Regions from separate parts of the Homo sapiens genome. Here all the other regions are linked to region 7. Evidence: promoter capture Hi-C in 16 types of primary human blood cells and fetal thymus (Javierre and others, 2016). All regions are on one chromosome and are shown on one strand. Each heading gives the region's core, a stretch centred on a gene start or on the middle of the fragment in contact. The rest is flanking DNA. Distances are from core to core; before and after follow the strand shown. Region 1 overlaps LINC01727 (long intergenic non-protein coding RNA 1727). Region 2 overlaps ENTPD6 (ectonucleoside triphosphate diphosphohydrolase 6). Region 3 overlaps LOC101926889 (a long non-coding RNA gene). Region 4 has its middle 7.8 kb from the start of VSX1. Region 5 has its middle 17 kb from the start of BETALINC1. Region 6 holds the start of GINS1 (GINS complex subunit 1). Region 7 holds the start of NAPB (NSF attachment protein beta).

Region 1 (3,080 bases), core at 549-3,048, 1.8 Mb before region 7:
TCCATCTGAACAAGAGCACCAGCACTGAACTTGGCCCAGATGCTCACAAGATAATGAAGGCTGTGGGGTTCAGGCATCTGTATTTTTAATAGCTTCCCACATAGTTCAATGTGTAGCCGAGGTGAAGAACTGCTGCTCTAGGAGGAAATTATTTGAGGCAACGGCAACCAAAGGTCTTAGTCATCATGAGGTGTCAGAATCACTTTGGAGACCACGAATATTTTGTAACGCTTCCTGTCCTATCTTGAAATGAAATTCACAGATTGTATAATCTACTTACATGCATCATTACAAAAAGTTCTTTCTGTAATATAAAGGAGAAACAAAAGAGAAGTTGAAAAAGGTAACTTTTGGTAAACACACACACACACACACACACACACACACACACACATATTCGATAGGTAAATGCTTGGGCACAAGCTCTCTAGAAGACGTAATAAAGTATCCAGGTGTTTGTCTTGTAAGAATGTGATCCCGACAACCCCAGAGCCAGGCCAAGCCTGGAGCACAGGACCAGTGACTCAGACACTACCGGCTTGGCGTCATGGTGCCGTGGTTTTCCATACTGGTGAAAAACGCTCAGTAAATTTCTAGGCACAACAACACACGTTGACTGACTCTGGGTTCCTGCATATTCCGCTCATACTAAACCAGGCGATAATGCTCTATGATTACGTGTCAGAGAGTTAGGGCCTAGGGTAGGTAATTAGCAACTGGTTGTTCACCGACATGCATTTCAGGCTGAATTTTGAGCATTTCAGAAATTCTAGCTTCCCTCTTCCTCCCCCAAATGCGAAGATGTCTCCACTATAATTGAGCAATCACAAACGGCCCCTTCCAATGTCTCAGGGCTCCCCGTTGAACACCCATGTGGAATAAGGAGTGAAGGTGAGCTCACTGAAATGCACTCGATGCCAGTTCCACCTTCCACACCGGAGCAGCGTCCCGCAGACCAGGGCTGGTGGGCGAAACTGGTGGGCAAAATGGGGTGGGCTGGATAAAGGACTCCCACCCCAAATGGCTGCAGGGGCCTATTTGAGGGAGTGGAGAGAGAAGGGTTGCGGGCTTCCAGCCAAGCTTTACCCTCACTGAAAGTTCAGGTTCAGGGCCCAGTCCCCCAGCGTGAAAAAGGGACCCTTATAAAGAGGTAAAGGGGCTTCCTTCAAATCCCCTGCACCCGCGCCCCCTCCCTCAAAGATAATCCTGGGAAATATTTAGCGATCTCCAGTGCCCTCTAGTGGCAGATACTTGTCATGCCAGGCACCAAAAGATGGTTAATAATTTTTATTGTTTAAAAACATCACACAAGCCCATGCAGGTTCATACAGTAACAATCTCAAGCTTTCCTGCATTTCCTTTTATCATCCCGATCTTACTACACCCCTAGAGAACATTTACATTCCTTTCCTATGCATTTACAAATGATATATATGTATATTATATATTCGTTTCTATATGTTACACAGAGATGTAGACATGTAGAAATATACATTACATGTGCACATATGAAGTGTATGACTTATAAATAAGCATAAAATATATTTTGTATGGCATATATGTGTATATATTTTATATTTACAAATGTAAAAATATTTTAAAACTTTATATAAATATATAAAAATATAATACATTTAATTCTATGCTTTATACAATATGTTTATATAAAGTTTATGCTTATATTGATAATATATTTTTATGTACTATATAAAGTCTGAAAATATATTGTATAAGGTTTATTTTTATTTTTATTTATTTATTTTTGAGACAGGGTCTTGCTCTGTTGCCCAGGCTGGAGTGCAATGGCACAGTTCACTGCAGCCCCGAACTCCTGGGCTCAAGGGATCCCCCCACCTGAGCCTCCGAAGTAGCTAGGACTACAGGTGCAAGTTGCCATGCCTGGCTAATTTTTTGTAGAGACAGGATCTCCCTGCGATGCTCAGGCTAGTCTTGAACTACTGGGTTCAAGCAATCCTCCTGTCTTGGCCTCCCAAAGTGCTTGAATTACAGGTGTGAGCCACACACCCGGCCTGAGGTTTTTAAACACAAAGTGATCTGACTGTTTTACCGCTGCATGCTGTTGTGCAGTGTGGAAATAATCTGATTTGTTTGATTTTTCTCCCCTACAGATGGACATTTAGATGCCTTTCATTTTTCTTCCATTGCAAGAATACTTTGTACATATATGTGAGTTTTTCTATAAGAAACACTTCCAGCTTTTCATTTAAGTCAGAGACTCAAATCTGAAATGCAAAAGCTTGTAAAACTGTGAAGTGTTAAAAATCATCCCGCCAAAGGAGTGAGGTGAAGGGAAGTTTTATAAAATTGGAATGGAAGGAAAAGGCTGGACAGGAGTGGGATGGCGTGGCTGAGAGGGAGATAGGAGGCTGGGTATGGATGAGGAGTGGGAAGTGTGGGATGGCGTGGCTGAGAGGGAGATAGGAGGCTGGATATGGATGAGGAGTGGGAAGTGTGGGATGGCGTGGCTGAGAGGGAGATAGGAGGCTGGGTATGGGTGAGGAGTGGGAATTGGGAACACCGTTTTCACCTAAAGCTGTATTCAGGGCCTGGGGTTTTTGTTTTTGTATTTATTTAGAAAATAGATAAAACTTCTATCTGGTTCAAAATTCGACAACAACAGAAAGGTGTTAGATCTCATCTTCCTTATTCTTCTGTCTTCCAGCCGCTCCGTTCTCCCCAGCAGAGCCAACTAAAGTAATCAGCGTCTTCTGTATCCTTCCACAGATAGTACATGCATAAGCAAAAAGAAAAAAAAAAGTTTCTTTCTCTTTCTCATTTTCCCTTCAAAAACCACCAATAATTGTACCTGACATACATAGCCTGCCCCTTTTCTTCATTAAATAATGGGAGATTATGTCATTAGGAAGAAACAGATTTCTTCATTCTCTCTGCCTGGCATTCCATTATGTGGATGAGGTGTTATTTATTTAAGCAGTCCGCACCTGAAGGACATCTTGGTTGGTTCCAATCTTTGCTATGACAACAGTGCCACAATGAGTAGCCTTGTACAACTGTCATTATGTGCATGTGTGGGGACACATGTAGGATACAGTCCTGGT
Region 2 (2,887 bases), core at 242-2,741, 1.8 Mb after region 7:
GCTCCCCTAGGAGTGGCCACTCACCAGGACCGACTGAGAGAGTGAGGGAGGGACAGGCTGATGGACGTTCCCCAAGGTTGGGGGCCCTAGAGTCGGCCCACACTTCTTGTCCTTTGAAGCCTCAGGTTCCCACATGCTGCCTCGCACTGGAGCAGCCAATGAAACTTGAACAAATGCTTTCATTTTGGGTATATCGAACCAAAAACAATGGCACCCAGTGAATTTATTTTGCTACTCTAGTAGAATTTTTGTAGGCTTTGGAAGTACACAGACATTATTTTCTCCTTGGCAGGAATGGGCTATGTGAATGAAAAAAGGTATCCGTTATGAAACTTCCAGAAAAACGAGCTACATTTTTCAGGTTTGTCTGGGGCTCTCAGTAGTTGCCCAAGGGACGGAGTTTAAACCTTTCGAAAAGTAAATTGCCTGAATAGAAGTATAACTGAGGATTGAAAGACTGAATCAGATACGCGCTTCTGTTCCCATGAACAGTTTGGGAACACCATTTACATGTGGCTTCTTTTACATAAATCGCCATGTGTCCCAAGCTGGTGGGACCCTCCCTTAGAGGAGCCAGCCACTGTGGTCTGTGCACCAGGTCAGCAGCTGCAATGTGTGCGACCTTGAGCAGGCTGTCCTGCCTTTATAAACCTCAGTTCCTCTTCTGTAGGATGGGGATCACACCTTCTGGAATAATTATGAGGCTCAAATGAAGCTTCTGATTCCTGGGGGGAACACGGAGCAGTTTCAGGTTGAACATTTTGTCCCTGGGCCTGGGGACGTCTGACTCTCCTTGGATCCTAGCACCCTAACGTGCTTTTCCTGCCTCTCCCCCCTTCCCACCAGCAGCCGCAGCACGGTCCTTGGCAAACAAGGATGAGAAAAATATCCAACCACGGGAGCCTGCGGGTGGCGAAGGTGGCATACCCCCTGGGGCTGTGTGTGGGCGTGTTCATCTATGTTGCCTACATCAAGTGGCACCGGGCCACCGCCACCCAGGCCTTCTTCAGCATCACCAGGGCAGCCCCGGGGGCCCGGTGGGGTCAGCAGGCCCACAGCCCCCTGGGGACAGCTGCAGACGGGCACGAGGTCTTCTACGGGATCATGTTTGATGCAGGAAGCACTGGCACCCGAGTACACGTCTTCCAGTTCACCCGGCCCCCCAGAGGTACCCGCCTCTCATGGCAGGGCTCTCGGGATCTCCTCCCCTGTGCTACAGTGTTGGCCGGGTCCCCTGCCACAGACTCACCTGGGAGCTTGTCTAAATGCAGTTTCCCAGAGATGCTGACGCTGGTATGGGCTGGGGTCCAAGCATCTGAATTTCCCGGGAGTCCCAGATCACTCTTACACTAGTGAGTGGTGACCATGCTGAAGGGCAGCTGAGACCTTGAGGTGTTTGGTGGCCTGTCCCCTCCCCACATTCACCAGCAGGTCAGGTGGCTAGGACCATGATTTAGGCCAGTGGTTGTGTTTGGGGCTTTGTGGGGAGTTCAGGCAGGAAGTATCCCCAGATTCAGTCCCATGGGAGCCAGAAAATCAGGAAAGTCAGATAAATAATAAAGGCTCCTGGGCTTGACCGGGAGCTGCCAGGTGGGCCAAGATGGCCAGGGGCAACAGCCGAGAGGGGTCTCAGCTGGATAAGGGAGCTGGAGCCTGGGCTTCGTTGGCTATGCTTCTAGGGTGGGCCTCAGGCCGGGGTGGGCGGCTTCTCTTGAGGGGTCCCCCTCGCCACCCGGTTCCTCTGCTCTCCAACCACCCTCTTCCCTTGGTTCCCTGATGCCCCTCTCGTGCCCGTGACCCTGAGGTTCGCCCTCCATGTCTCTCTAGCTGTAGCCAGTGAGAGTTTGCAGCCCCTGTCAGGCAGGTCCCCTGGGTGTCCCATGCTCTTCTTGGCTGACCTGGAACCTGTGGGGTAGACACCATCCTGGCATTGCACGGTTCTGCTGGTGCTGGACATTTCTAGCTGCTGTCTCCAAAGCTGAGTGGTGTATTTTATTTACTTTTGACTCCATCTGCGTTATTTTTTAACTTATTACAGTAGTGAAATATTTAGATGCCATATCTGCTTATCTCTAAAAGTGGCTTCGAAGCCTGTAATCCCAGCTATGTGGGAGGCTAAGGCAGGAGAATCGCTTGAACCTGGTAGGCGGAGTTTGCAGTGAGCCAAGATCACACCATTGCACTGCAGCCTGGGCAACAAGAGTGAAACTTGATCTCAAAAAATTTTTTTTTAAGTGGAACTTTTTAAAAATTAATAATTAAAAAGTAAAGCTTCTTCAAAGCTAAGTGTGCAACAGACATCAGCCTGCGATGCTTTTGGAGCCATGTCCCAGGGTTTTCTCTTTGGAGAGAAAAGACTTTGCAAAAAGTTTTGTCCCTGATTTTTTCTGGTCCAGTCTTCGCGTCTGAATTTAGTATGCCTCCTTATTGTAAGCACAAGTTCATACCACTCCTAATAATTTAAAACACTCCATTTTTTAAAATGAAGAAAATACCCTAATCTTGAGAACCCTTTAATAAATTCATTTCAGAATCAAGGAAATGGTGTTCCTATTTTCAGTTTGGAGTCACTTATCCTATTCCGCTGTTTATTGAATTGGCAAGAATTAACTATGTTAAAATTTAACACTGATGCAGTTGTTTTGTGTGTAAATTATCTTCAGTAAAGTTGGATTTTTATTTTTTATTTTATTTTTATTTTTTTTGAGACGGAGTCTCGCTCTGCTGCCCAGGCTGGAGTACAGTGGTGCGATCTTGGCTCACTGCAACCTCCGCCTCCTGGGTTCAAGCGATTCTCCTGCCTCAGCCTCCTGAGTAGCTGGGACTACAGATGCCCATCACCACACCTGGCTACTTTTTTTTTCTTTTTTATTTATTTTTATTTAAT
Region 3 (3,010 bases), core at 492-2,991, 1.8 Mb after region 7:
TCTCCTGGTGTGCCATTTGCTAAGACCTTTGGAAAAGCACAGTATTTGGGGGAGAGTGTCCCGTTTTTCCAGGTACAGTCTGTCACGGCTTCCTTTGGCTAGGAAAGGGAAATCCCCCAACCCCTTGTTGTTCCCAGGTGAGGCAATGCCCCACCCTGCTTTGGCTCGCCCTCTGTGGGCTGCACCCACTGTCCAACCAGTCCCAATGAGAAGAACCAGGTACCTCAGTTGGAAATGCAGAAATCACCCATCTTCTGCGTGGATCATGCTGGGAGCTGCAGACTGGAGCTATTCTTATCTGGCCATCTTGGAATGGAGAGAGCAAAAATATTTCTAAATAACACATGGACAGAGAAACACTGTAATAGTGGACTTTAGAAAATGTTCCAAACTGACAATTACAAAAATACAATACAGCCAAATGTGTGGGACAGAGCTACAAGGGTGCTTATAGGAAATGCAAAGCTCTAACTGCATTTCTTATAAGATAGGCTGAAAGTTGACTTCGAGTAAGACAGCAGCACATAGCTCCCACTGGGCAGCCTGGCTTGGGGCTCCCTAGTAGGGATGGTTTTTGAGGGGGACCTTGTCATAGTTCTGGGGTCATGTGGAGGACACTCTGGTGTTACTGTTTCCAGTGCACCAAGGGTGAGTGTCTTCTGGTTACCTAGCTACCTTGGCCCAAGCATTCTGGAGCCTGGGAGACTGGGAGCCAGGAGATAGGTGGGAGGAGGGGCAGGCCCCAGGTAATAGGAGAGCAGGGCTAAGGAACAAAGATAGCCAGCCTGAGGCAGCTCCCTCAGCCTCTGTGCTGAGAAATCTCGTACTCCACTTCTCCGCCCTGAGAAAGCTTGCTGTCTGGAATCCTGTCGCCTGCAGATGCTCAGCCATGCAGGCCACTCCACACAGAGAAGCAGCCTGGAGCTCTCACCTTGGCTCACAGCCTCAGATAAGGGGCTTCCAGATACAACATGGTGCATTTGTCTTGAGCTCGGGCCCCCAAGTCAGCCTCTCAGCCCAGTGTGATGTGTCACCCTGTGACCCACAGCCCTGCTTTCAGCCTGTCAGAAACGGCTTCATTTTAAACTTCACCTGAACTCCTCCCTTCTCCGCAATCCTGTCTATCCCATGCTGAAGGCAGGAGGCCTCTGATGTGGCTTCCTCGCTGCAGTTACTAACCCTCACTTTGTCGTGGACAGCTGTGCCCTGGCGCCATTCACTGAAGGGGCTTTATCAGTCTTCAGAAACACCCTTCCTGAGCGTGAGGTGCTGGGCTGTAAAATATACATACATTCTTTAAAAAGGCAAATGCTTGATGATACAGTGCTATTTGGACTTCATTTTTTTGAACCTTTGCAATGCCCTTTCTCAACAAAACAAAACAAAATTTGACTTGGATTCTTAGATAATGGAATTGGCTGCAGGAAGCATTTGTTTTATCACCCCTTGAATGTTAACAATAACCCTGAGAGAGCTATCTGTACTGAGCATGAAGGAAATAATATATACAGTGGTCCATTTCCAAGACAAAGTGCCTTGAATTGGTTTAGGTCAGCAAACTACAGAAGAAACAGGATACACTAGGCCCCTGCTTGGATAGCCAATGCCTGCTTGTCGCCTCCCCACCCTCCACCCTACCCCACTGCCTTAGTTGCCCTCACCCAAACCAAAGGAGTTTAGTCTAAGATGAAAGTTTACTAGCTTGCAAAATAGCTCACTTTGTCTGTTCTTATCAGCCTGCCCAGATACTTAGGTCATAAGTCAAGTACTTGAAGAGCCCTTGAGCTAACTAGGATTGCAATGTATTATGGCTGCAACAAAATGCAGCAGAACAATCCTAAAGAAAATGCCTAAAACCCCTACCCAACAACCAATAGGCAATGTCCAGGAAGACTGTGACCCCATAGTACTCAGCCTATGAGGAACCAAGGGAGGGACCTGCACACTAGGGGATAAATTGCTTTTGAAACTGTACTGGGTGTGCCTGCCCATCAGACACCCGATCTTGCAAGATTGTCATTAAAGTCTCGCTTCCACTGTTCTCTGGGTCTCTGAGCCCAAACTTTGGGTTTGGACCAGTGAGTTTGTTTCTCACAGCATGACCTACTCTCCACCATGATGTGCAGCATTGCAGTGAGCAGAGAACAGCCTCCCTTCCCACTCACCCACCTGCCTCTTGGTTAGACATAAGTTCTCTTGTAACTTCTTTTGCTTCATTTATTTTAAATAAGAATAATAAAGTTTTAGTCTTTAATTTAAAAAAAGAAGATAGGCTAAAAATTAATATGTGTTCAGCTTAAACTAGAAAATTTTAAAAAACAACACACTCTAAGTACAAAGAAAGAAATAATAAAGATGAAATAAATTTAAAAATATTAAACAAAGATACAGAGGAGTTCCACAAAGCCAAAAGTTAGCTCTTGGGGAAGAGAAGTAATAAAACTTAGGCATTTCTGGAGATGCTGACCAAGAAAAAAAGGAAAATTTACAAATTAATTATTATGAGTGAAATGGAGGCTATCGCTGCAAATGCTAAGAAGATGTGAATAATGTTATACCAGTAACACTGAAAACTTAGGTGAAATGTGATGATTCCTTTAGAAAGATGCCAAAACTGCCTGCGAAAGAAGTAGAAAGCTTGATTAGAAATAGAATCAGCAGTTTAAAATATTTCACACAGAAAACAGAAATATTCCATCAAATATTCAAGAAATAGAAACTTCAAAACTTAAACCCATTTAGAAGATTTAAAGGCAGAAAATCTCCAACTCATTCTGTAAGGCTAATTTAATCTTGATAGTTTCTAAACAAGTACTATATTAGAAAGAACATTAGAAGCCAATCTTTTTGTGAATGTAGGAGCAAAGAACCTAAACACAATGTTAGCAAGTCAAATCCAGCAATGTATTTTAAAAGTATGCTTATTTGGGAATGCGGGAATGATTCAACGTTAGAACTTATCATATTAACAAATTAGTGGGCCGGCGCGGTGGCTCACGCCTGTAATCCC
Region 4 (3,047 bases), core at 217-2,716, 1.7 Mb after region 7:
TCAACGGGGCTGTGCTGGGTGCTCAAGGCAGCCCGCTCACATGGCCCAGGCTGATTGGCCTTGTGGGCTCTCGGGGAGTTGGGAGCATCCCACAAGAACCAGGCAGATGCTGCACAGCCTTTGCTGGCCCTTCCACAGAAGTCAGAGCATTACTTCCATCACGTTCAGTCAGCGAGGCCATAGCATGAGTTTTGGGGGAGTGGCACTTCTGCTTTCATGGGCCCCTTCTTCCATAAAAATATTTAAAGTTGTATTTTGTGCCTATGTTGGCATAAAGGTGAATATAATCCAGTCTAGATTCATTATTGTATATTCTTTATTATTGTACTCATTTTTCCTTCTGATTTTAAAATATATTCAATGGCATTAGAAGCATAGGCCCTGGGCATTGTACCCAAGGCATTAGTGTGCACTGGCCCTGCTGACTGGTTTAAGCAGCCACAAGCCACCAGATTCAAGGACAGGACACAGATTCAAGGTGGGACACAGGACCCACCACATCGCACTTGCAGGGCCAGGCGCCAAGCAGTGCTCAGCCACCCATCAACGCCCAGCCCAAATGGTTCCTCACCGCAGAGCCTCCCCAGGTTTTCCTGCCCCAGCTGGAACAAAATCACTGCTGCACTCTTGAAGCACTTGATGCTCCTTTGGTCTTATTTTCTTATTCTTAAGTTCTTTTGTGTCTGTTCTCATCTCCTACCTGGCTCCAGGAGCCCAGAACTGAGTCTTTTCATTAACACATCCCCTGGACAAATGTTCTTTACCTTCCAGGACAGTGACTTCCCTGGTGGCCTCTGGAAGAGGCCTCCTTACTATGTGCCAGTGGTTCTCAAAGTGTGGTTCCCAAAAGTGGTTCTGGCCACCTGGGCATTGGCCAGAAAAACAAACTCTTGGACCCCATCCAGACCTCCAACATCAGAGACCTTGGGGAGACCCATGATCTGTGTGTTCACAAGCCCCCCAGAGGACCCTGAGCCCCACTCAAGTTTGAGAACCACATCTTCTATTAATGCTTCATGAACCATATATCCTGACTGGTTTTACAAATATGTTGTGGGTGCAGAAACACCCAGTTATTCTCAAATGCTCTGAGGAGCTATGAGGAAAGCTTGAGTTCAGCACTAAGATAATAGTCAGCACCAGACATGAGCTTAGGGAATCAGGAAATTGAGGTTCTAAAAGGAGAAGGAAAAAAGAAAAGAGAAAATTTTATTTTAAAATGTTACATATCAAAAAATACATTAGTGGGAAAACTCACAGCCACCATCGGTGGGGCCCTTGGTCTGCGCCAGGCACTGCAGAGCTTCTCACGAACCCATTCACTTACCACTTGTGACAGCTCTGATGAGGGAGGTCCTGTATCGTCCCCATTCTGTGGGTGAGAAAACGGAGGCCCAGAGCTGGGACCAGCCCAACAGCCAGGGGAGCGGTCAGGACCCAAATCCTGACGGTCAGGCTAGAAGCAGCGAAATCTCCACGGGGCCTGGTCTGTGGCTTAACCTTGGTTTTGTTCTTCATGTTGCAGCGCTTGGGATCTGGCGAGGTCTGACTCTTACACTGTTCCAACTGCTGTAGACGGATGGCATTATGGGCTTGAGGCAGATTTCCCAGAGGCTCACATGCCCCATGGCCGGTCTTTTCCCTTTAGGTCCTGAGACAATAGGAAAATCCTGGGTAGGAATCCAGGTAACACTTTGATTCCAAAGAACATACTTCTCTTCCTCCTTTTCCAGCCTCTTCACTGTCTCTCTCCTCTCCTCTCTTCTCTTCCTTAGCTTCTTCTGGTTAAGTTCCATCTGTAAGACAAAGGAACCCAGAGCCAAGTTAAGCTTAGGAGAGGACACACCATCCAGTCCCTGAGCTAAGCCCACCCTCGGACCCCACTGCAGAAAAGGTCATGAGCAGAGGGCACAGAAGGATCTGCCTCTCCTCCTCTCCCCCATGGCAGACAAAAGCAGGTGCACTGTGTGGACATCAAGAAGGTGAGAGGGAGGTGACATAGGCCACCCTAACCAGAAGGTCACACCTGGGCATGTGAGGGGCCGCTGAAGGACAGCCCAAGAGCTGCTGCTGAGCTTCATTTCTGGTATTAAACAAGCACTAGGTCATCTCTTGGCAATTGAGAAACCTGGCCAATGATAATGTGCTTTTAACCAGCTCATATTAGAAGTGAATGTGATCACTATCCCAGCTCACAGGTAGCACCGAGGCTCTAGGCAAAGGTCAGAACAACTCTGCCAGGGTGGCGTGACTGCGGGTTCCTGCCTCTGCTTGCTGGGGACCTACTTACTCCAAGGAGGCAGGCACCGGCCATGACCCTATTTGAAGGAGGTCTTTGCTCCTCCCTCTGTGCTCAACTCCCAGTCAGCTCCCTCCAAGGCATCCGCCACAATTGCAACCGTTCACTCACCTGCTGGTTTACTGCTTTACCCATCTGCCTTGCCGGATGCTGTAGCTGACAGTGCTGGCAGGCTGCCCTCCGGGTCGCCTGCAGCCTCTGTAGACAGTTCACACACACACCACAGCTTCCTGCCTGCAGCACCTGCCACTCGAGCGGAGGATGCCCCAAAGCCAGGAGTGCACCAGCTAGGACTGAAGTCCTGGGGGGCAGAGGGTGATGCCTCCAGCAGCCACTCTTGACAGATGACAGGGGTTGATGGATGATACCTGGCCAAGGGGTGCAATGATCCTGTGGTAGGAAAATCCCGAAGAGAAATCACCTTGCATAGTCACCCGAGGTCCTGGTGTGATTGAGCCTTGGGAAATGCCACTTGCTGTCACAGCTTCTCTGTGTCCCTGCCCCTCCCCTACTAGAACTTCCTGGGTTCCTCCCACATTACTTACTTCACTCAAATCCCTGTCTCAGAGTCTGCTGTGCAGAACCCAAGCCTAGACTGACCATAAGCTCCAGAGCAGGGCTGGGGCTGGCCTGGGGCCCCTGCATGCCAGGGCCCCGCACACTCCTGGTGCAGAGCCAGTGCTTAGTGAAGGTCTGCAGCGGGGGAACAGGCCATAAGATGGAGGAGTCTGAACCATATGCCTGTTGC
Region 5 (2,956 bases), core at 26-2,525, 1.9 Mb before region 7:
AATGAAAGTAAAAATAAATTATGTACAGAAGAAAGGATATTAATAATAAAACATTAACATCAGTTAATAGTTCTTGGTAGAATTAAAGGTTTTTTTTTCCTATTTGTCCTTTTTTTTTAAATTGTTGTTTACTCAGCAAAACAAACAAACAACTTAAGAATGGAATATGGGCCCTGAGATAACTTAGTGCCTACACAGAGTATCAGTCAACTGTTGCTGCATAAGAATCCACCCCCAAAACATAGTGACTTAAAACAGCAGAGGTTTATTACTTCTTGTGGTGGTGTGGATTGGCTGGGTGTTTCCTTTGTTGGCTTCTCCAGGGCTTTCCTCTGCGGTTGTATTTAGCTTGAAGCGGGTGGGACTGGAAGGTTTACATGGCCTCACTCAGTGCTGGCACTTGGAACTGTCAGTTGGGGTAGGCTCTCCACGTGGCCCTTGCCCTCCAGGAGATTTCACCCACTTCCTTACAGAGTAGCTTTCAACATCATCAAAGGGTGTTCCAAGGGGCAAAGGTGAAGGTTGTAAGTTCCCTTGCAGCCTAAGCTCTGGACCATGTCACGTTCTGTGGCTCAAAGCCAGCTGACTTGAGGGATGGGGAAATAGAATTAACTTTTTGATGGGGGGAGCTGCAGGACATTACAGCTATGTTTTTAAAAACCTTCCATTTATTGTAAAGCATGCATTTAACCTCACAGAACAGGGCAGAGAATAGTCTAGGGATTGTCTCAAATACCATCTTGAAATGTTGGATTAATTTTTTGGTGGTCTGTGGATAATTTCTTTAGAATGTTCATAGCTGCTATTCATGGTATTCTTACCTCTATATACATCCTATTTTTGGCCTGTGATGGCTACAATATAATCCTGAACATTCAAACACCTAGGCTTTTCCCTTTTGAATGATTACGCTCAAGTAGAAATAATAGATGGAAACCAATAGTTTTTATCCAAGTGAAGGCACTCTAAATGATATTTTCAGGAGGGATTGATGATTGGGAGATAAAAGAAATAAAAACATGATCAAGGAAGCAAACCCAAATGTTTACCAACAGATGAATGGATAAAGAAGTGTGGTATATAGACACGTACAATGAAATATGATTCAGCCTAAAGAAGAAACGAAATTCTGTCGCATGCTGCAACATAGATGAACCTTGAGGACATTATGCTAAGTGAAATACATCAGTTACTAAAAGACAAATACTGTATGACTCTGCTTATACGAGCTACCTAGAATGACGAATTCATAAAAACAGAAGGTAGAATGATGGTTGCCAGGGGCTGGGGAGGGAGAATGGGGAGCTGTTGTTCAGGGGGCACAAAGTTTCAGCTTTGCAAGATGAAAGACCTCTGGAGATCTGCACAATAATGTAGATATACTTAACCCTACAAACCGTACACTTAAAAATGGTTAAAATGGTAAATTTTTATGTTTTTTTTAAGCACAGTTAAAAATTTAAAAATGAAAAAAAACTTGATCAAGGGCAAAAAAAAAAAAAAAAAAAAAAAAGTAGTGCATTCATTCAGAGGTCTTATCCCAGAGTACGGTTCCCAGCCATGGTCTACTTCTGTGCCTTTAGTTCTGGAAGCCTTGCTTCCCAGTGAGAACAGAATCAGGAGACCCTTTGAAAGAAGAAAGTAAGACCGGGAGCAGTGGCTCACGCCTGTAATCTAAGCACTTTGGGAGGCCGAGGTGGGTGGATCATAAGGTCAAGAGATCCAGACCATCCTGGCCAACATGGAGAAACCCTGTCTCTACTAAAAATACAAAAATTAGCTGGGTGTGGTGGCACACACCTACAGTCCCAGCTACTATGGAGGCTGAGGCAGGAGAATCGCTTGAACCCGGGAGGTGGAGGGTGCAGTGAGCCGAGATCACGCCACTGCACTCCAGCCTGGCGACAGAGTGAGACTCCGTCTCAAAAAAAAAAAAAAAAAAAAAAAAAGGAGGAAAGTAAAGGAAAGTAAATAATATCTGGAGAAGATAGGGTTCCTGTCTTAGAAAAGCCCAAATGCAGCCTGTTGGTTGGAGCAGTTGAGTTAGTAAGCCACTCCACAGTGACCAGAAGACCTGCTTTATGCCATTTGTTTTAACTACGTTGCCGCGTAGGCACCCACTCAGCTGAGGGCCTTAAATGCCACCTGCAATAAAATAAAAACCTTACAGTTGCCAACCATTTCATCTGGTTTTGCCCTGAGAATCTGCAAATCCTCTTCCATTGGTCAGAAGTTTCACAGCTGAAGAGATAGGTAATATTCTTGATGAAGTCAGTTCAAGATCAAGACAATGGAAATTTCTTGCAACGACTTTCATCTTCTGTGTCTATTGGTCGCATAACTTAAGCGTGTTGGTATCTCTGTTAGTGGTGAAGTCGGCTGCAAACCACAAAACACCTGACTGCTACGGAAGATATTAACAGGGACTTTTTTCCTTCTGCATAACAGGAAGTCTTGAGTAGGTAGTCGAGGTTGGGTAGAGGACACTTCTGTTTCAATTCTACATCCCTAGGGCTTTGGAATATGAATGATTCATGTTGCCTTGTGGTGGCTAAATGGCTACCGTCCCCTGTCCCTGGAGGCCTCACAATTCTTTTCCAGGTAGGGAGAAGGGGGAGAAGGGTGGAGCACACTAAATGGCAAACAAATGTACCAGCTGAGTCTGTGTGTTCATCTGGAATGCAAAGCTTTTCTGGAAGCCTCTCCCAGCAGACATCTCGCTGGCCCAAACCAGAACCCTACCCTATGACCACTGCTAGCTGCAAAGTGGCTGGGGGACAAGAGGGTATTTTTGGAGTGGGCTTGCTCAGGCAGGTAACAAGGCTACTGAAGTTAGTCATTAAAACCTTCTTTTTTTTTTTTTTAGACAGATTCTCACTTTGTCACCCAGGCTGGAGTGCAGTGGTGTGATCTCTGCTCACTGCAACCTCTACCTGCTGGGTTCAAGCAATTGTCC
Region 6 (2,763 bases), core at 100-2,599, 2.0 Mb after region 7:
GGTGTGGTGGCCTGAGCCTGTAGTCCCAGCTACTCAGAGGGCTGAGGGGGGAAAATTACCTCAGCCCGGGAAGTGGAGGCTGCAGTGAGCTGAGATGGCGCCACTGCACTCCACCTGGGTAACGGGAGTTAAGACCCTGTCTCCAAAAAAAAAAGGCAATGTCATTATTCAACATAAGCCTGAGTAGGCCATTCCCATGCCCATTCCTTAGATGACATATCTACTGTATATTTGCAAAAGATCAACATAGTTTCTAGGGTTAGCTAGAATTAATCCAAGATTGCGCCGGTTGCGGTGGCTCATGCCTGTAATCCCAGCACTTTGGGAGGCCGAGGTGGGCGGATCACGAGGTCAGGAAATTGAGACCGTCCTGGCTAACACGGTGAAACCCCGTCTATACTTAAAAAATTCAAAAAATTAGCTGGGCGTGGTGGCGGGCGCCTGTAGTCCCAGCTACTCGGGAGGCTGAGGCAGGAGAATGGCGTGAACCCGGGAGGCGGAGCTTACAGTGAGCCGAGTTCGCGCCACTGCACTCCAGCCTGGGCGACAGAGCGAGACTCCATCTCAAAAAAAAAAAAATCCAAGATTGCTTGTTAGAAATTAACATTGCTTTTTGAAAAATTGCCTAATAAAACAATTCTTTAGCAGTGATTCCCATCTTCCATATGCTTAAGAAATATTCCATAACCATCTAGCCAAGAAAATTCCTAGTGAATTCGTATTAATCTAGGGCAGATATTACAAATATTTTTAAAAGACTATTTTAAAATCAAAGGGTGGTACTGTGGTGTTGGAAATGGAAAGCCTAAATAACAGTCTAATCACTCTGGAGCTGTGTGACCTTGGGCAAGTTACCTAACTTCTGTTTCCTTATTAATCCCGGGTCTTAAAACACTTCAGAGATAATTGTGGGAATGAAATACACACTGCAGTCCCTACCAGCACTAGGTACCCAATAAAAGAGAGTTTCATTTTAATATCAAACAGAAAACCCGCACTGCAAAACTGAAACCCTTGCGTCCTACCAATGCACACCAAGTTTTTGGGCCTTTCCTCTTAACCTCAAAGTGCTCTTTTCTTGAACCTAAACGAGAATGAATGAATCAAAAGGAAAATGACAAGGAAGCTGCGGGGCGTGCATTTATTTCCAGCTCTGCTGCCCGTAGAGTCCCCCGGCCCACTGCCTGAGAACTGGAAAAGCCGTCTCTGCTCAGCCGAGGGGTTCTGCCATCTCCGGGGCGGGGACCTCACCTTGGAAAGACCCCTCCCACTCCGCCCCTCTTGGAATGCGGCTGAGCGGTGGATGTCCCTTTTCGGGCGCCGTAGGCGCGTTCCTATTGGCTAGCTTTGTTCGGCGCCAAAGCGCGGAGCGGAGGCCGAGGCGAGAGCCTGGCGCTGTAGGACTAGAACGAAAGGAGTGAGGCGCCGAGAGCCCAGATACCATTTTGGCGTGAGAGCTGGTGGTTGGCAAGGCCGCGGGAGTGGGAAGCGTCCGCCATGTTCTGCGAAAAAGCCATGGAACTGATCCGCGAGCTGCATCGCGCGCCCGAAGGGCAACTGCCTGCCTTCAACGTGAGGGGCGGGTAGACTTGGACGGGGCATGCCGGCGTTGGGCCCTGGGCTCTGGGGCGGGGCGGCTCCCCGTCAGGGTTCACTTTCGCACCTTGTTCCCTCCGAGCTCCGGAAAACTTGGGAAGCAGCAAAACAAAATTCAGGAGGAAAGAGAAAGCATTCATGCTTACGCTACCCAGCGATTTGGTGAATTTCCTCATCTGAGCAAATTTTGCATTTTAGCAGTTTTCCTTGGACAGATTTGTTCCGGTCCCTTAAAATATTTACAGGTTGCCTGATAATTTAGCATTTCTTGCTCACTCAGGCATCTAATCGTGGTCAGTAAAAGCTAGGCCTCTGGAACCTGGCTGAGATTCTGGTTCTGTAGTGTGACTTTGGGGCAGTTACTCAAGCTTTCTGTGCTCTCAGTTTTCTCATACGCAAAAATGGGGATGGTGACAATAATAGTACCCAACGCATGATGTAGTGGACGCAAAATGAGTGGCATGTGTAAGGGTCTCTGCATATGCCTCACATACAGTAAGGGCTGAGTCAGTGTTAGCTATTAATATTACTTTTCTCCTGCTGCTGCTGTTACTATTAATATTATGATTATTTGTATTTTTCTATCACTGCTACCCCAGGGAGAGTGCTAAGCACTTCATGTACATTATCTTTTGTCTTTCTAATAACCCTTTGAGGGCCCGGTACCATGGCTCCTGCCTGTAATCCCAGCACTTTGGGAGGCTGAGGCGGGAGGATCGCTTGATCCTGCCACTGCATTCCAGCCTGAGTGACAGGGAGACCCTGTCCCAAACAAAACAAAAATAACTTTTTGATGTTTAAACTATTGTTTTCTACTTTTTTCAGCTATATATGCATAGGATTGGGGAGATTTAAGTATATTGCCTAAGGTGACACAGCAAGAAAGCTAGGATTTGAACCCTGGCACTCTGGCTCCAGAGCCTGCACTCTAAATTGTATATTTCACTTACGTCATAGAGCAGGCATTATGTGGATGTCAGGACACATTCTGCTGGAAGATGGGCACAAAAACAGATAATAGAATTCACCACGCTAAGTGATACTAAGGAGGTATAGCAAGGAGCACGAAGGAGAAACACCAGTATGAGCTGGGGTAGAAGAGGTGATATATGAGCCTTTCCATCCTCAAGGATGAGGTTACTGATCTGAGAAGGAAGCGAGGCATCC
Region 7 (2,954 bases), core at 205-2,704:
ATGCAATGGGTTAAGTATCTGCTCTTGGTAACAGCAAAGGATCTTTCACTTTCAAAAGAAAACAACGAAACAGGCACACACAAAATTTCTGCCTTTCTCATCCTAAACAGCTGAATCATTCACATATTCAACAGCCCAGAATTCTTCCGGGCTGTCAGTGCGGGCTCTGCTTTTTGAGAGGTTGGAATTTAAAATCCTCCTTAGGAGAGCACGGAAGAATTACAGGAAATTAAAGGGATTCCCAAAGGACGCCTGACTTAAACAGCAGCAGCGTTACCGTTAATCAAACAGGAGGCTCTGGCTATCAATCAATCTCCGGAGAAGGAAAAATACTATGCTGAGAAAATATATTCGTTCATTAGTCAAGTATTTACTAAAGGTGTACTCGGCGCAAGGCCCCTGGAGAGAGGCCAACAAGCACACCAGCTCTGGATCCCTCGCCGGACCGCCCCCTCCCCGGCGGGGCCCACCTGCAGGCGGGACGCCCCCAGGTGCGCGTTCCAGGCGCCGGGGGCGGCCCCCGCACCCACCCCTCCGGCTCCACCCCGGCGCGCCTCACCCGGACCGGTCTCAGGAGCGATACGGGCTTCAGCGTGGCGAAATGCACCAATACGACTCGCTACGCACTGAGAAGGGGGCCCCACGCGCGCCCCGAGCTACCGCGCCCGCGGGCCTCAGGGAGCCGCTGACCTTCTAGGTCGTGGGACCCCCGCACCAACCCGGGCCAGGGCGAGGGGGGCGATCTGGGGTCTCCAGAGGGCGCGTGAGGCTGACAGCCCCCCCCCCAGAGTGTTCTAGGGGCTTCGTGGGGCGCTTGGGGAGCTCTGGGGGTCCTAGGGGTTCTCTGAAAGGCGCGTGGGGGCTGAGGGTCCCTGTGAGACTCTGGGGATTCTAAGGGGGCGTGTTAGGGGATCCGGAGAGCGTGTGGGGGCTGAGGAACCCTGGGGAGTTCTGCCGGCCCTAGGGGGTCTCTAAAGTGCGCGTGGGGGCTGAGAGCCCCTGGGAGGATGCGGGGTTTCCAGGGACCCTGGGGGGGCCTGTGGGGTCTCTGGAGGGCGCGTGCGGACTGAGGGCCCCTGGGCGTCCTGGGGGCTCCAGGGGGCGCTGGGGGACCCTACAGGATTTCTGGAGGGCGCCTGCAGGCTGAGGGCCCCTAGACGTGGTCTGAGGGCCCCAGAGGTTGCGTGGGGGACTCGGGGGGTCAGCCTGAAAGGAAGGGGGCCAAGTACGGAGACCCCCCCCCCCCAGGGCACGCACGGTCTGGCGCTCACCCAAACAGCCCTCGGAGGAAGGAGTGGGAGGCCTTGACTCGCTTCTCGGCCTCCGCCATCAGCTGTACTGCCTCACGCTCCTTCCCCGCGTTGTCCATGTCGCCCGCCGCGGCCGCCACAGCCCCCTCAGCCGGCTCGCTGTGCGCCCAGGCGCCTTAACCCTCCCTCTGGCGGCCGCAGGGACGCAGGCGCAGGCGCGACGCGCGAGGCCTTTCGGGAGCTGTAGTCCGGGTCCTGTCATGGCGGCGGGGATTCGCGAGCCGCCTACTACAGTTCCCAGGAGGCCCCGGGGCGGGGTGTGTGTGAGCCGAGCTTGCGCACCGCTAGCTCCCAGGACGTCGGCGCAGGGGGCGTGACCCCCCCAAAGGGGTCCTGGGCCAAGGTGAACTTTAATTTTGTATGTATGCAGAAATGGAAAAATGATCCGTGGCCTCTAGTAAAGATCACCTCCTCAGTAAGACTCGCATGGCAATGGGATGGATGAAGGAACAGGGGATAACAGATTGGATGGAACCCACACCCTTCATGCAAGTTCTGCAAAAGAGAATCTGGTGTAGCCACCAAAGCATCACATGCTTGATACCGCCCACCAAAAAACGAGCAACAGCTGGCAATAAGAGCCATTTTTATCTCCAAGAGCAAGACGTCCCCAATATAAGTTCAGTTATTTTTAAATCTCCCCAAACTGTAACTTTCTGTTGGTCCTCTCTTCCTTGGTTATAAATGAGTTGCATATATGCAATATATGCATAATCCACTCTTTTGTTGACTGAATTATATTCAATGGATGTGAACCATTGAACTCTTATCCTTTACATAATACTGGCCATAGTGGATGGATCTCCAGGGACAAAATGTTTGCCTGCCAGGAAGACTTCTAATCTCCTAGGAGAAGTATCCATAGATAGATGGGATCCTGTGCCAGAGACTTTCAGGCCTGTCCCAGAGGGAGTTATTTTTGAAGACAATGTCTAGACCATTCAAGCTTGGCAGTGCTAAGGCAGAGATGCTGAAACTAATAAGAAAATCACTGCCAAGTGAGATTTATGACAGTTTCAAACTGTTAATAAATACACTCTGGGCACTGGCATGCAAAATTTTAGAAAATGAAGACTGTCTGTAGAGGGCAAGGCAAGAGGGGCCAAACTCCTAGAAAGAAAGTTGACTAAAGCACATGTCACAGAGTTCATACATTTCAGGACTCCGTAGAGATAGAAAGAAATCTCAGCTCTTCGTGCAGTTTATTTACGATTACTACATGCATTATTCTAACTTTGAAAAGCTGAGCTGTGTGTTTTTGGAGAGAGAAGGAGGCGGGAAATTGGAGGTGACCGTAAATGCAGGGGAGACCAGAGAAAAACTGTAAAAAGTGAACATAAGCATTTGGAAAGCAGAGCAGTCTATGGGGGCTTAATGGAGTGAGGCTAAGTCAAAAGCTCCTAAGTAAATCAGTGTGTTGATTAAATCAGTTGTTCCCTAACGTGGTTCGATGCAGAAGCTCTAATGGATATTTAAGAAATACTGATTCCTAGGCCACTGGGTTTTGGTATCAAGGTCTCTTGCAGCTGGGGTCTAGAAAATGCACATTTTGAAAAGAACTCTCCATCCCTATCCTAAAGCACACAGTTCTAGATTCTCATATCTGTAGTCAGTTGAAAAGGAGCTGGAACAGACTGCCTCCCC

The links. Contacts are between HindIII fragments. The CHiCAGO score rates a contact against its expected background, and 5 or more counts as called.
Region 1: a contact is called between a fragment that was not itself captured here and the fragment with the promoter of NAPB in region 7, in 1 of 17 cell types (activated CD4 T cells). The highest score is 5.2, in activated CD4 T cells.
Region 2: a contact is called between a fragment that was not itself captured here and the fragment with the promoter of NAPB in region 7, in 1 of 17 cell types (non-activated CD4 T cells). The highest score is 5.1, in non-activated CD4 T cells.
Region 3: a fragment that was not itself captured here is called in contact with the fragment with the promoter of NAPB in region 7 in 2 of 17 cell types (naive B cells and total B cells); the score reaches 6.6 in naive B cells.
Region 4: a fragment that was not itself captured here is called in contact with the fragment with the promoter of NAPB in region 7 in 8 of 17 cell types (total CD8 T cells, total CD4 T cells, non-activated CD4 T cells and 5 more); the score reaches 14.5 in total CD8 T cells.
Region 5: a contact is called between a fragment that was not itself captured here and the fragment with the promoter of NAPB in region 7, in 2 of 17 cell types (activated CD4 T cells and non-activated CD4 T cells). The highest score is 5.7, in activated CD4 T cells.
Region 6: the fragment with the promoter of GINS1 here is called in contact with the fragment with the promoter of NAPB in region 7 in 1 of 17 cell types (total B cells); the score reaches 8.2 in total B cells.

What each region holds. Positions count from the first base shown.
Region 1 is chr20:21,571,046-21,574,125 of GRCh38, forward strand. All of the region lies in intron 1 of LINC01727 (long intergenic non-protein coding RNA 1727), which reads left to right. Among named protein-coding and RNA genes, the nearest start is that of LINC01727, 2.6 kb to the left of the region's middle. The HindIII fragment of the contact is 913 bases long and covers 1,343-2,255 here.
Region 2 is chr20:25,206,230-25,209,116 of GRCh38, forward strand. It overlaps ENTPD6 (ectonucleoside triphosphate diphosphohydrolase 6), which reads left to right. Exons shown (of 15, transcript NM_001247.5): 2 at 293-361; 3 at 847-1,168. The coding sequence starts at 308. Among named protein-coding and RNA genes, the nearest start is that of ENTPD6, 12 kb to the left of the region's middle. The HindIII fragment of the contact is 1,556 bases long and covers 714-2,269 here.
Region 3 is chr20:25,186,674-25,189,683 of GRCh38, forward strand. LOC101926889 (a long non-coding RNA gene) reads right to left here. Exons shown (of 6, transcript NR_109994.1): 3 at 1,180-1,274; 4 at 224-306; 5 at 1-26. Among named protein-coding and RNA genes, the nearest start is that of ENTPD6, 7.5 kb to the right of the region's middle. The HindIII fragment of the contact is 1,787 bases long and covers 849-2,635 here.
Region 4 is chr20:25,088,433-25,091,479 of GRCh38, forward strand. No RefSeq gene overlaps it. Among named protein-coding and RNA genes, the nearest start is that of VSX1, 7.8 kb to the left of the region's middle. The HindIII fragment of the contact is 721 bases long and covers 1,107-1,827 here.
Region 5 is chr20:21,546,135-21,549,090 of GRCh38, forward strand. No RefSeq gene overlaps it. Among named protein-coding and RNA genes, the nearest start is that of BETALINC1, 17 kb to the left of the region's middle. The HindIII fragment of the contact is 2,819 bases long and covers 1-2,685 here.
Region 6 is chr20:25,406,324-25,409,086 of GRCh38, forward strand. It overlaps GINS1 (GINS complex subunit 1), which reads left to right and starts at 1,350. Exons shown (of 7, transcript NM_021067.5): 1 at 1,350-1,572. The coding sequence starts at 1,498. LOC105372581 (a long non-coding RNA gene) reads right to left here and starts at 1,972. Exons shown (of 3, transcript XR_937403.3): 1 at 1,748-1,972. RefSeq lists enhancers at 1,392-1,641, 1,739-2,496. The HindIII fragment of the contact is 9,972 bases long and covers 1-1,962 here.
Region 7 is chr20:23,420,034-23,422,987 of GRCh38, forward strand. It overlaps NAPB (NSF attachment protein beta), which reads right to left and starts at 1,455. Exons shown (of 11, transcript NM_022080.3): 1 at 1,272-1,455. The coding sequence starts at 1,369. RefSeq lists silencers at 444-673, 1,304-1,393 and an enhancer at 1,644-1,833. The HindIII fragment of the contact is 2,788 bases long and covers 1-2,254 here.